Linked DNA regions of Homo sapiens: all the other regions are linked to region 3. The links are contacts of gene promoters, found by promoter capture Hi-C in human tissues and cell types (Jung and others, 2019). All regions are on one chromosome and are shown on one strand. Each heading gives the region's core, a stretch centred on a gene start or on the middle of the fragment in contact. The rest is flanking DNA. Distances are from core to core; before and after follow the strand shown. Region 1 holds the start of ZNF93 (zinc finger protein 93). Region 2 holds the start of ZNF253 (zinc finger protein 253). Region 3 overlaps PBX4 (PBX homeobox 4).

What was found. Contacts are between HindIII fragments. The study calls those that stand out against the background at their distance.
Region 1: the fragment with the promoter of ZNF93 here is called in contact with a fragment that was not itself captured in region 3 in 2 of the 25 tissues and cell types used here (aorta and spleen).
Region 2: the fragment with the promoter of ZNF253 here is called in contact with a fragment that was not itself captured in region 3 in 2 of the 25 tissues and cell types used here (bladder and mesendoderm cells).

The regions. Positions count from the first base shown.
Region 1 is chr19:19,898,623-19,902,533 of GRCh38, reverse strand. It overlaps ZNF93 (zinc finger protein 93), which reads right to left and starts at 1,588. Exons shown (of 4, transcript NM_031218.4): 1 at 1,443-1,588. The coding sequence starts at 1,445. RefSeq lists enhancers at 1-386, 935-1,484, 1,019-1,618. The HindIII fragment of the contact is 8,115 bases long and covers 1-3,911 here.
Region 2 is chr19:19,862,974-19,867,182 of GRCh38, reverse strand. It overlaps ZNF253 (zinc finger protein 253), which reads right to left and starts at 1,301. Exons shown (of 4, transcript NM_021047.3): 1 at 1,184-1,301. The coding sequence starts at 1,186. It overlaps LOC124904664 (a long non-coding RNA gene), which reads left to right. Exons shown (of 4, transcript XR_007067169.1): 1 at 1-747; 2 at 3,374-3,548. RefSeq lists an enhancer at 841-1,270. The HindIII fragment of the contact is 7,733 bases long and covers 1-3,977 here.
Region 3 is chr19:19,591,441-19,595,691 of GRCh38, reverse strand. The region is part of intron 2 of PBX4 (PBX homeobox 4); the gene reads left to right. Among named protein-coding and RNA genes, the nearest start is that of PBX4, 25 kb to the left of the region's middle. RefSeq lists enhancers at 2,452-3,076, 4,190-4,239. The HindIII fragment of the contact is 8,394 bases long and covers 1-4,251 here.

The DNA.
Region 1 (3,911 bases), core at 339-2,838, 310 kb before region 3:
GTAATCCCAGCACTTCAGGAGGCCAAGGCAGGCAGATCACCAGAGGCCGGGAGCTCGAGACCAGCCTGACCAACATGGAGAAAACCCGTCTCTACTAAAAACACAAAATCAGCCAAGCATGATGGTGCATGCCTGTAATCCCAGCTACTTGAGAGGCTGAGGCAGGAGAATCGCTTGAACCCAGGAGGTGGAGATTTCAGTGAGCCATGATTGCGCCACTGTACTCCACCTGGGCAACAAGAGCAAAACGCAAAACTCTGTCCAAAAAAAAAACCTTCTGTTTTAGGCTTAATATTAGCCTTAGCTTGGAGTCACTAGGCTCAAGCTTTGTCATGTCAGAGTTATTCACTTGGTTTTTGAAACTCAGTGTTTGAAAAATCCGTGAAATTACTCAAACACAGTATTTACATAAGGGAAGGAAATTTTAAGATGTCTATTTTTTTTTTAAGACGGAGTCTCACTTTGTCACCAAGGCTGGAGTACAATGGCAAGCTCTCGGCTCACTGCACCTCGCCTCCCAGGTTCAAGCAATTCTCGTGCGTCAGCCTCCCAAGTAGCTGGGATTACAGACGCCTGCCACCAATCCCGGCTAATTTTTGTATTTTTAGTAGAGACGGGGTTTCACTATGTTGGCCAGGCTGGCCTAGAACTCCTGACCTTGTGATCCACCCGCCACGGCCTCACAAAGTGCTGGGATTACAGGCATCAGCCACCGCGCTGGGCCAGGAAGGGGATTTAACCCTAACGCAGTTCCGGTTTTTGTGTCCTTCCCATATTGGCTGAGGTCCCACCGCACAATCTAAGCTGATCCTGGTTGGGCTAGACACAAACTTTTTCCATATAGGGTAAACGCGCGATGTTTTGAGAAAAGGAGAATGGGGAAAAAGAAGGGGTAGGGTTGATTTACAATTTTTACAACTTATGACCAGGAAGTTGAGTCTCTGAAGAGGAACTTAGCTGCCCTAACAACTCCTCAAGTGATCCGCCCGCCTCGGCCTCCCAAACTGCTGCGATTACAGGAGTGAGCCACCTTGCCCAGCCCCATAAATTTTTAATAGGAGAAAAGAGAAACTGTGAACCCAACCCACTAAAGCTCTTCCCATTCGTGAACCCGCACTCCGAGTCAGGATTCTCCCCTGACGACTCTCCCGTGGTCTCTGCACAATCTGGGAGAGAAGCGGCTCTGCGGGTGCGCAGCTGCCCAGCGAGGGCTCCAAGCCAGGGCACAGTCACCGCACAGTGAAGAGACAGGACGCCTGGGGGCTGCGCTATAAGCGCAGCCGCCATCTTATGGCTGAAGGGAACCGAGGCCGAGCTGGGCAAGAACTCCGGCGCAGATTGTGGAGCTGACTAAGGGGATACCTGAGTCCCGCCACCGTCACTTTCCACCGGTTCCAACCAGCCCCTCCCCGTCGCTTGGGATGTCGGACCGGCACTCTCACCATTTCTAGGCTTCCAGGGGTCCTGGTGTCTTAGCTGTGGATCTCCCAATACCTGCAGGTCACAGGGCCACAGAGGCTGGGCCTGTAGGAGCACAGGACACAGAGTAGTGAAGAGGAGACCTGGAGCTCCGGCTGCACCGAGAGACAAAGGACCCGCCAAACCAGAAGCCGCCCTGTTCGGTCCGGCTGCTTGCCTGATTGGACGTTTCCAGCCCAGCGTCCCTGATTGGATAATTCTTAAGGTCCCGCCCCCTCAGGACCTGAGTGACAGAAGATGTGATCACATGCTGGGCTGAGTGAAGAAGAGTAACAGCCTAAGCTGCAGCCTTTTCAGCCAGGGCTTCCTCTCTGAGCTGAGCCACGTCCACCCCAGAGCATGGGAACATTCTCTTTTTTACTCTCTCTTTTTGAATGTATTGAAAAGGTGAACAGAAGTATTTCGTTGTCATATTAATAATACCGTTGGAAGTAAAGTGTTTGGTGTCGCAAAGTGAAACCAGTACTCAGGCAAAAGTTTTTTTAGTAAGGCAATTTACTTCTGCAAAAGGTTTTTGTTTGCATTAATCACGATCGCAAGAGCACCCTGAACAAAGGAGGGAAGGGGTTTTTATTTTTAACGTAAAGTCTCTTCCTCTGTGTTACTCCCCCATGGGCTAGGGTCGGACCCCACAATCTAAACTGACCCGATTGGCTATTTGTAAATATTTTTCCAAATAAGGAAGGGAAGGGGCATGTATAAGTCACAGTGGTGGGACGTGTGGTTTTGAAGGGTGGGAAGGCTGCAGAGTGAGTAATCAAGGGAACAGATGTGAATTATTGATTAGAGCTGTTGGGAAGGAAGGTTGTTACAGTAACTAGGGGCAAGGAGGCATGGAGAACAAGCAAGTTGAGTTTGAGAACAAAGAACAAGAAAGTTAAGACTAAACCTTTGAAGAGGAATTTTATTGTATTTTACAATTTCCCCCTTTTAATTTTTATAATTAAAAAAAAACCTTTTTTTTTGAGATGGAGTTTTTGCTCTTGCTGCCTAGGCTGGAGTGCAATGGCACGATTTTGGCTCACTACAACATTTGCCTCCCAGGTTCAAGCAATTCTCCTGCCTCAGCCTCCCGAGTAGCTGGGAGTACAGGCATGTGCCACCACGACCAGCTAATTTTGTGTCTTTAGTATAGATGGGGCTTCTTCATATTGGTCAGGCTGGTCTCTAACTTCTGACCTCGGGTGATCCGCCCGCATCAGCCTCTCAAAGTGCTGGGATTACAGGCGTGAGCCACTGCGACCACACGCTTTTTAAAACTTTTTAAACATACCTTTACTTTGTTGTTTGACTTGATCTTTTAAAAGGAAAAGTTTATCTGAATAAGGTGGAGGAGAACTAAGGGAGGTTTTCGTAAGTGTCGTTTTTATAAGTCTTTGTACTAGCCCACAGATGCATGGTATGACACAACACCCAACAAGAATTAGTACACCTATTACAACTATAAGAGAAGTAAGAATTGAGGCTATGACTTTTTTTCGTTTACTGAACCACCTCTCTAGCCATTCTGAAAACGTGTTATTGACCCCAGAATTTTTAGCTAATTCATTGGATAAAGTGGTAAGTTCGTGTAAGGCCCTTCTTATGTTCCTATTGGGGGCAGTATTGTTTGGGATGAAGGTACAACATTTGAGTTTTAATCATAACACAAACTCCACCTTTTTCAGCTAATATTATGTCCAGGGCCATTTTGTTTTTCTAAGTTATCTGGCTAGTAGGCCTTAATTGGTTGGCTATTTCTTTGACAGCATTTCTGGTGTAATTAATAAACTAATATTGATTATAATAGATGTGATTTATCTATCTAATCTACATTTTTATTAATAGTTACCCGTGGAAATATTGATTTAAATCCTGCAGCTATTTGATCTTGGGCTTTGAATTCATCAGGTACCACCCGTGGGACTCCAGTTGTGTCTAAATAAACTTGAAAGTCAAAAGACACATAAGGGGCTTCTCTTATTTTACAGTGTTGTGGTTTTTCTTTTTCTAGTCGATGAAATGCCAGAGTGAAAGGGATAGCCAACTGGACAACAGTGCAAGTGCCGTTCCAGTTACTTGGCAGAGTGTCCAGTAAGGGTCCACCACAATACCACCATATATTTGCTCAAAGATGAACAAGGGAAGACTGACTGGTAAGATCTTGGAAAGGCTTAAGCTCACTGTATCCCATTAAGTCTCCAAGAAATGCCAAGTTTTCCCCTTGTCGTGAGAGACACGAGGTAAAATTGACGCTAGGAGATGGAGGCTGGATGGCTCTTGGGGCCTGACCCACAGGGTGTTGGACTTTAAGAAATAGCAGAGAGAGAGCTCAGCAGGATTTATTACCCTAGGCTGTGGGGTCTTGGAAAAGAGCTACTATACAGTTTATGCCTGGTCAACTAGAAGACCATCTGAGTGGGAAAGGGACAATTTGGGCCTCTGGCTGGCCG
Region 2 (4,209 bases), core at 52-2,551, 270 kb before region 3:
TTTTAGTAGAGATGGGGTTTCCCCATTTTGGCCAGGCTGGTCTTCAACTCCTGACCTCAAGTGATCCATCCACCTCGACCTCCTGAAGTGTTGTTATTACAGGCGTGAGCCACCGCGCCCGGCCCCATAAATTTTTAATAGGAGAAAAGGGAAACTGTGAACCCTGACAGATATAATAGATTCCTCTTCAAGGGCCTAACTTTCTTGTTCCTTGTTCTTAGGACCAACTTTTTTGTACCTCTTTGTACCTAGACACCCGCTCCGTAAACAACCCAAACCGCCTGTTCCAATCTGCGACCCGAACCCCTTCCTTATTTGGAAAGTAGCCAATCGGGTCAGCCTAGATTGTGAGGTCAGACCCCGGCCAATGGGGGAAGGACACAGAGGCAATAACGGCGTTTAGGGTTAAAAACCCCTTTCAAACTGGGAGGCCGAGGCGGGCGGATCAACTGAGTTCGGGAGTTCAAAACCAGCCTGACCAACATGGTGAAACGGCATGTCTACTAAAAATACAAAATCAGCCGGGTGTGGTGACGCATGCCTGTAACCCCAGCTACTCGGGAGGCTGAGGCAGGAGAATCACTTGAACCCGGGAGACGGAGGTTGCAGTGAGCCGAGATCGCGCCATTGTACTTTAGCCTGGGCCACAAGAGCAAAACTCCGCCTCAAAAAAAAAAAAAACCTTCCTTCCTTTCTTCTGTGTGCTCTTGCGATCAGGTCGGACGCGAGCAGCACTCTTCTTCAGAAGTAAATATGCCTTCCTGTGAAATTTTCTAAGTGCTGGGTAGTTTTTTGTTTTGTGTTGTTTTGCGGCACCAAGCGCTTGTTTCTAACAACCTCACGGACCAAAGCTCTTCCCATTCATGAACCCGCAGGGAACCGAGTCAGGATTCTCCCCTGACGACCCTCCCGTGGTCCTTGCATGATCTGGGAGAGACGCGGTGCTGCGGGTGCAGAGCTGCTGAAAGAGGGCTCCAGGCCAGGGCACAATCACTGTGCCGGGCCCCGGATGTCACCGCAGCCGCCATCTTATGGCTGAAGGGGACTGAGGCCGAGCTGGGCAGGGAGAACTCCGGCGGCAGATTGTGGAGCTGACTGTGAGGAAGCAGAGTCCCGCCAGAGCCACTTCCCACCGTTCCAAACAGCCTCTCCCCTCTCTCGGGACGTTGGACCCGGCACTCACCATTTCTAGGCTTCCAGGGGTCCCGGGGTTTAGCTGTGGCTCTCCCAATACTTGCAGGTCACACGGCCACAGAGGACGGGCCTCTATAAGCACAGGACACAGAACACTGAGGATAAACCTGGAGCTCCCGCTGCAGCGAGAAACAAAGGCCCCCAGAAACCATGTGGTTCGCTCCAGCTGCGTGCCTGATTGGACGGTTTCCGGCCCAGCGTCCCTCATTGGATAATGCCTAAGGCCCCGCCTCCCCAGCCGCTGAGTGACAGATGTGATCAGATACTGGGCTGAGTGAAGAAAGAGTGACAGCCTAGGCTGCAGCCTTTTCTTTCTTTCTTTCTTTCTTTCTTTCTTTCTTTCTTTCTTTCTTTCTTTCTTTCTTTCTTTCTTTCTTTCTTTCTTTCTTTCTTTCTTTCTTTCTTTCTTTCTTTCTTTCCTTTCTTTCTTTCTTTCTTTTTCTTTCTTTCTTTCTTTCTTTCTTTTCTTTCTTTTTTCCCCCCACCGAGACGGAGTTTCCCTCTTGTTGCCCAGGCTAGAGTGCAATGGCACGATGTTGGCTCACCGCAACCTGCACCTCCCGGGTTCAAGCGATTCTCCTACCTCAGCCTCCCATGTAGCTGGGATTACAGGCATGCCTCACCACGCCCGTCTAATTTTTTGTACTTTTAGTAGAGACAGGGTTTCTCCGTGTTGGTCAGGCTGGTCTCGAGCTCCCGATCTCAGGTGATCCGCCCGCCTCGGCCTCCCAAAGTGCTGGGATTACAAGCGTGAGCCACCGCGCCTAGCCTAGCTGGAGCCTTTTCAAACGGCTTCCTCCCTGAGCTGAGCATCCCATCCCAGAGCATGGGAAAATTCTATCTCATATTCTCTCTCTTTTTGAATGTATTCAAAAGGTGAACAGAAGTACTTTGCTGTCATATTAATAATACATGAAATGTTTGTTCAAGAGAAAGTCAACTTTTACTTTGGTAATAGTGTATTATCAATACTAAAGCTAATTTTAATAAGACCTTGTAAAGCCAGGTGCGGTGGCTCAGGCCTGTAATCCCAGTACTTTGGGAGGCTGAGGAGGGCAGATCACTGGGTCAGGAAATCGAGACCATCCTGGCTAACACGGTGAAACTCTGTCTCTACTAAAAATACAAAAAATTACCCGGGCGTGGTGGCATGCACCTGTGGTCCCAGCTACTCAGGAGGCTGAGGCAGGAGAATGGCTTGAACCCAGGAGGCAGAGGTTGCGGTGAGCCAAGATCGCACCACTGCACTCAAGCCTGGGTGACAAAGTGAGACTGCGTCTCCAAAAATGAATAAATACATAAATAAAACCTTGTAAATAAACAAAATTTGTCATTTTTGACCTCTCGAGATTTACATATATAATTTGTAATCTCCTGTAATTTTTTAACTATATTTTATTTATATCTACATTCTTTTTATTTTTTCAGTTTGAAACAACCTTTAAGTAATTTCAAACTGTTATAGGAGATAGAAAGAAATCATTTAGGGACAGGTGCGTTGGCTCACGCCTGTAATCCCAGCACTTTGGGAAGCCAAGGTGAGTGGAATACTTGAGGTCAGGAGTTAAAGACCAGCCTGGCCAACACAGTGAAACCCCATCTCTACTAAAAATACAAAAAATTAGGCGGGCGCGGTGGCGGGCGCGGTGGCGGGCGCCTGTAGTCCCAGCTACTCGGGAGGCTGAGGCAGGAGAATGGCGTGAACCCGGGAGGTGGAGCTTGCAGTGAGCCGAGATTGCGCCACTGCAGTCCAGCCTGGGCGATAGAGCGAGGCTCCGTCTCAAAAAAAAAAAAAAAAAAAAAAAATTAGCCTGGCGTGCTGGTGCACATCTGTAGTCCCAGCTACCACGGAGGCTGAGGCAGGAGAATCGCTTGAACCCAGGAGGCGGAGGTTGTGTAAGGCCCAAGGGGTTCACCTGGCCCTTTGCCTAGACAGAGATGATTCATCAAGACAGGGGAATTTGTGGAGGAAAAGTTAAATATTAAATTTGAACTCAATTAAACGTGGACACAAACAATTGTCACGAAGTCCTGGAACAGGTTGTGTGAGCCTTCTGAGTTGTTCATTCAGAGCTGTTTCAGTGATATCTCTATTTCAATCTATTTCTATACATTAGTTATTGAAAAACAATAGACAATCACAAAAGCAAGTTGACCTTTTTGTGTTCCTTGTGCCCAGTTGCGGAAGGCCCTCGTGACTGGACCTCCTGCCAAACAACTCGTTACAAAAAACTGAGGGTACCAGACTGCGCCAAAGCTTCATGAGACCTGTCCTCATCTGTGCAGAAATGAGTGGCCGACTCTGGAACCCAGGCTGTTGCTTACCACCTTGGTGGTGAAACCTCCATACTCTAGTGAGTGTAAATATATATATATATATATATATATATATCTTTTCCTTTCTCCTCTTCCCATTGCAATTTGCTTATTATATCAATGTGGTTCTTATATCAATATGCTTGTTATATTGATCTGTTTATTATATCATTTGCTTATTATATCTGCATTGCCACTTACGTGGAATAAACTTGTTTACCATTAAAGGTGTTGTGTGTGTGTCTTTCCTTCTCCCCTCATGTGTTTCCCACCCGAATATTTTTGGTGTCACAAACAGGATTCGAAAACCAAAGTGTGCCACTTTTTGGCCACAAGGACGGGGCTAGAGGCTCGTGGACTTCCCATATCCAGAGATGGGAAATCCCCCACTTCTCCCCCTTGGCAGTTGAATGGTCCAGGGGAACTGGCCTTTGTGAGAATTGGGAATCTAAATTAGTGCAATTTAAACTTTTGACTGTGCATGAAGGGCTGCAGGGGATTCCAGTCAGCAAAGCAGATGCTGAGGGATCTCCCAGAGTGGATGGTGTTTGCTTACTGCTTATAGGTTAATGTGTCAAGATAGGAGCTGGTTGCATCCTATGGAATGGGAGGAAATAGTCCATTTTATCAAAGGCTAAGGCTAAAATACTAGAATTTGAAATCCCTGCTGCTAAAAAGGAGGCTCAGAAATGTATTGTC
Region 3 (4,251 bases), core at 888-3,387:
CACCCAGTGCCAGGTCATCCTCCCGACGGGGCCAGATGCTGGGCTGTGATGCCCCTGGCTTCCTGCCCACCTCATATGCCTCTCATGGGTATGTAAATATCTGATGACCTGTCTTATCTGTTCCTTATTTAAATTGTGGGGAGCAGATGCCATGGAAATGGAAACACAAAGGTTAGGCTTTCCTGGGGAACCAGACACACAAGTTTCTTGTTAGCGGTGAACTGGTTTTAAGCAAATTTGCCCTCAACTCCCTGGCAGCACTCCCTGATGGTGCTTCAGCATTCGTGTGGTAAGCTGGACAAGCGGGGGCCCTGTACCCGAATGAGCCCCAAGTACTGCAGGCTGAGGGAAGCCGCTCAGAAGGACACAGCCAATGTGTATCCACCCCCTGGAGACACTGGCTGTGGTCACGTGTTTCTTAGTATTGTGGAATTGTGTAATGTTGGTCCCTTTCACTTTTCACCTAATAAAAATAAGCCAGTGTCAGGACCACTTGCTGAGGCATGTGTACCAATAGGCACAGGCAGCCCAAGTTGTCCCTTGCTCACCCCTGACCCTGACCCCAGGAAGCAGCCTTTGGGGGCTCCCCACTGCCCACAGCGGATGTTTAGCAATGCAACATCTGGAATTTAGTAATAATAAAAAACTATTTTAAAAAGTACTTTTTAAAGGCTGGGTGCGGTGGCTCACGCCTGTAATCCCAGCACTTTGGGAGGCCGAGGCAGTTGGACCACCTGAGATCAGGAGTTCGAGACCAGCCTGACCAACATGATGAAACCCCGTCTCTACTAAAAATACAAAAATTAGCTGGGCGTGGTGGCATGCGCCTGTAATCCCAGTTACTCAGGAGGCTGAGGCAGGAGTATCACTTGAACCCAGGAGGCAGAGGTTGCAGTGAGATGACATTGCGCCACTGCACTCCAGCCTGGGTGACAGAGTGAGACCCTGTCTAAAAAAAAAAAGTACTTTAATCAACTGTAGTCTCAGGAAGCTGTCATTCTTGACCTTCCTACCAGTGAGCTGCTGGGGCTGAACGAGAAACCAATTTTTGAGAGTGTGGGTGTTCAGCCTGGGCACGCCTCTTCATAATTCCATCTGCCCCTGTGTGGATGTTACTGCATGAGTCTGTTAGTCTCAAATTCAGCAGTTTCAGGAGGGAAAACAAGAGTTGATACCAACTGTTGCCAGTGCAGCTGAGATGTCTGTCCATTTCAACCGCTGGTGTCGCCCCACCTCCCTACCCCCATCTGCCTAGGCTTTGAGGGCCATGCTCAGGACTCTTTTTTTTTTTTTTTTAGACAGAGTTTCACTCTTGTTGCCTAGGCTGGAGTGCAATGGCGCAATCTCGGCTCACTGCCTCCCAGGTTCAAGCAATTTTCCTGCCTCAGCCTCCCGAGTAGTTGGGATTACAGGCATCTGCCACCACACCCGGCTAATTTTTTGTATTTAGTAGAGACAGGGTTTCACCCTGTTGGTCAGGCTGGTCTTGAACTCTTGACCTCAGGTGATCCGCCCGCCTCGGCCTCCCAAAGTGCTGGGATTACAGCCATGTGCCACCATGCCCGGCGACATTTTTAATTTTTTATTTTTTATTTTTTTTTTTTTTTAATTAAGACACAGAGTCTCACTGTGTTGCCCAGATTGGCTTCAAACTCCTGGGCTCAAGTGATCCTCACACCTCAGCTTCCGCACACACCACCATGTCTAGGGGTCGCTGAGGACTATTTTTGGGGGGATGAGGTCTTAGTATGTTGCCCAGGTTGGCCTTGAACTCCTGAGCTCAAGTGATCCTCCTGCCTCAGCCTCCCAAGGTGTGGGGTTACAGGCAGGCGCCACTGTGCCTGGCCACTCAGGACTTTTGATTCCTCCAAGCTGAGTCCCAAGGCCGCTGCAGGGCTCAGAGCACCGGCCACCTGGGCATTTCCTTGGAAGCTAATGCTTTCTTCCCACTGACTGGCTCAAACATCTGGGTACAGGGTATGTTTTGGGGTACAGTAGGACAGGGATGAGACAGCAACTGCTCCTCCCTGAAATGCACAAGCCTGGAGCTGAGGGATGCCTGTTCCTGAGTGTCACCTGGAGTGTCCAGGTATCTTTTTATATCAGGAAGTGCAGTCAGTGAGTGCTGTGGGTCCCACCTGTGGGCCACCTGCCTTGATGTCAGGAACACCTCAGCCTTCTAGTCTCGGAGACAAACCAGCCAGTGGCAGGAAAGTAAACAGGATTTCGATTCTGCTCCATCTGTCCTCATCCCGTGACTAGGAATGGCCAAGTCTCAGCCCAGAGGAAACTGTTCATGGTCCTGATCCTGCACCCTGTGGTACCCACGGGCCGCCTCTTGAAGGGCAATCCCATGAGCCGGGGTCCTGGCGTGCTTCTCGATTTAACCCACAGTTCTCACATTTCCCTCTGGCTGAAGTCTGCAGCAGGCCTTATGGTAAAGACCAAACTTCCACAGAGCATTTAAAGCCTGGTGGGGCAGGACATGGTGGCTCACACTTATAATCCCAGTACTTTGGAATCGCTTGAGCCCAAGAGTATGAGACCAACCTGGGCAACACAGTAAGACCCTGTCTCTACAACAACAACAACGGCAAAGATTAAGTCTGGTGGGTATTGATGGAGCCTGGGCAGGCAGCTCGGGGCTTCCTCGAGTTGTTCCCCAGAGCCCTGCACAGCCTCGGGCAGACCCTTTTCTCCCGTTTTACAGATGGGCAGTGGGAAGCTCTAAGAGACAGGGGCCTCCCCAGGGCACACCAGTCACCCACAGCCAGGCTGCATGCCGCCCCACCCCGTACACTGTCCTCACTCATGAAAGGGACCCAGGGCCTGTCCCTCATGGCCGGCACTCATGGGCCCCACACACCCACCTGTGTCATCTGAACAATGACCATTCCTGGCCAGCGCAGGGTCTAGGATGCGCTATGTTCTCAGGGTCTGTCCCGGTGCCTTTCTGTTTTTGTTGATTGAAAAACTGTTTCTGGTGACTGATACATACTAACTGAAATCCCTTTCATCCAGTTCCCCTTATGAGGTTCAGAAGATTCAGTGTCTGGGGGCCTGACTTAGAACACAGGGCTTATCACTCACAGCAGCCTGAAAAGAACGTGGTCCTCCATGTAAACCTGGCATCACCGGATGCACTGCCAGCAGTCCCTGGTGAACCCCAGGAATGGCCTGTCGGAGGTATGCAGGCAGGTCCCTCAAAGCTTGTCTCCTGGGGTCAGCTTCACCACACCACAGTGTCTGGGTGTTCCTGCCCTGCGGTGGTCTCTGAAGGCCAAGGACACCCTCAGCGTATGCATTTCCTCCCAAACCCTCCTTCCCAGAAACAGCTGTCCTCCTCGGTGTCTAGAGGAGCTGTTCTGAGAACAAAATAAACCCTGATTAGTTGCAGAGCTTTGAATTTAGCTGGGAGAACCAGATACGGGCCACAGTCCCTTTGCTGAGACCCTGGGACTAGGTATGTTGCAGAATTCGAAAGCGTTGGATTTAAGATGTGTCACGTTGGCCAGGTACAGTGGCTCACGCCTATAATCCCAGCACTTTGGGAGGCTGAGGCAGACGGATCACCTGAGGTCAGGAGTTCGAGACCAGCCTGGCCAATATGGTGAACCACCCCCCCACCTCCCTCACCCACCCATCTCTACTAAAAATACAAAAACTAGCTGGGCATGGTGGCGGGTGCCTATAATCCTAGCTACACGGGAGGCTGAGGCAGAAGAATCACTTGAACCTGGGATGTGAGGTTTGCAGTGAGCTGAGATCACACCACTGCACCCCAGCTTGGGCGACAAAGTGAGACTCTGCCTCTAAAAAAATATAAAAATAAAAAATAAGGTTTGTCACATTGATGTTCCCAGTGAGGACTGAGGCGTGGCCTGAATTCACACAGTGGTGTTTGGCACCAGAGCAGGGACAGCCTGGCACGTTGGAATGTGTCAGGCTTTACCTCCACATGAGCATGAGTGACAGCTTGTGTGAAAAGCTTCGGATCTCAGATCTCGAGTGGGTAGGCAGCTCCGAGGCGGTGTGCTGAGCCCCAGAGGCCCCTTGCAGACCCACTCGGCCATCCCATCCTGGGCCGTTCTTGAGAAGGGGCCTGCTTTGCCTTCTCCACCCTGTGACTGTGTCTCTGGGGAACAAGAAGTTTCTCAGCCAGGGCTGTTGTGCTGCAGGAACCCTTGCTGTGCTGTAGGAACGCACAGAGCCCCATTCAGAGGAGTAAATGTAAATAATGCATAACATCAG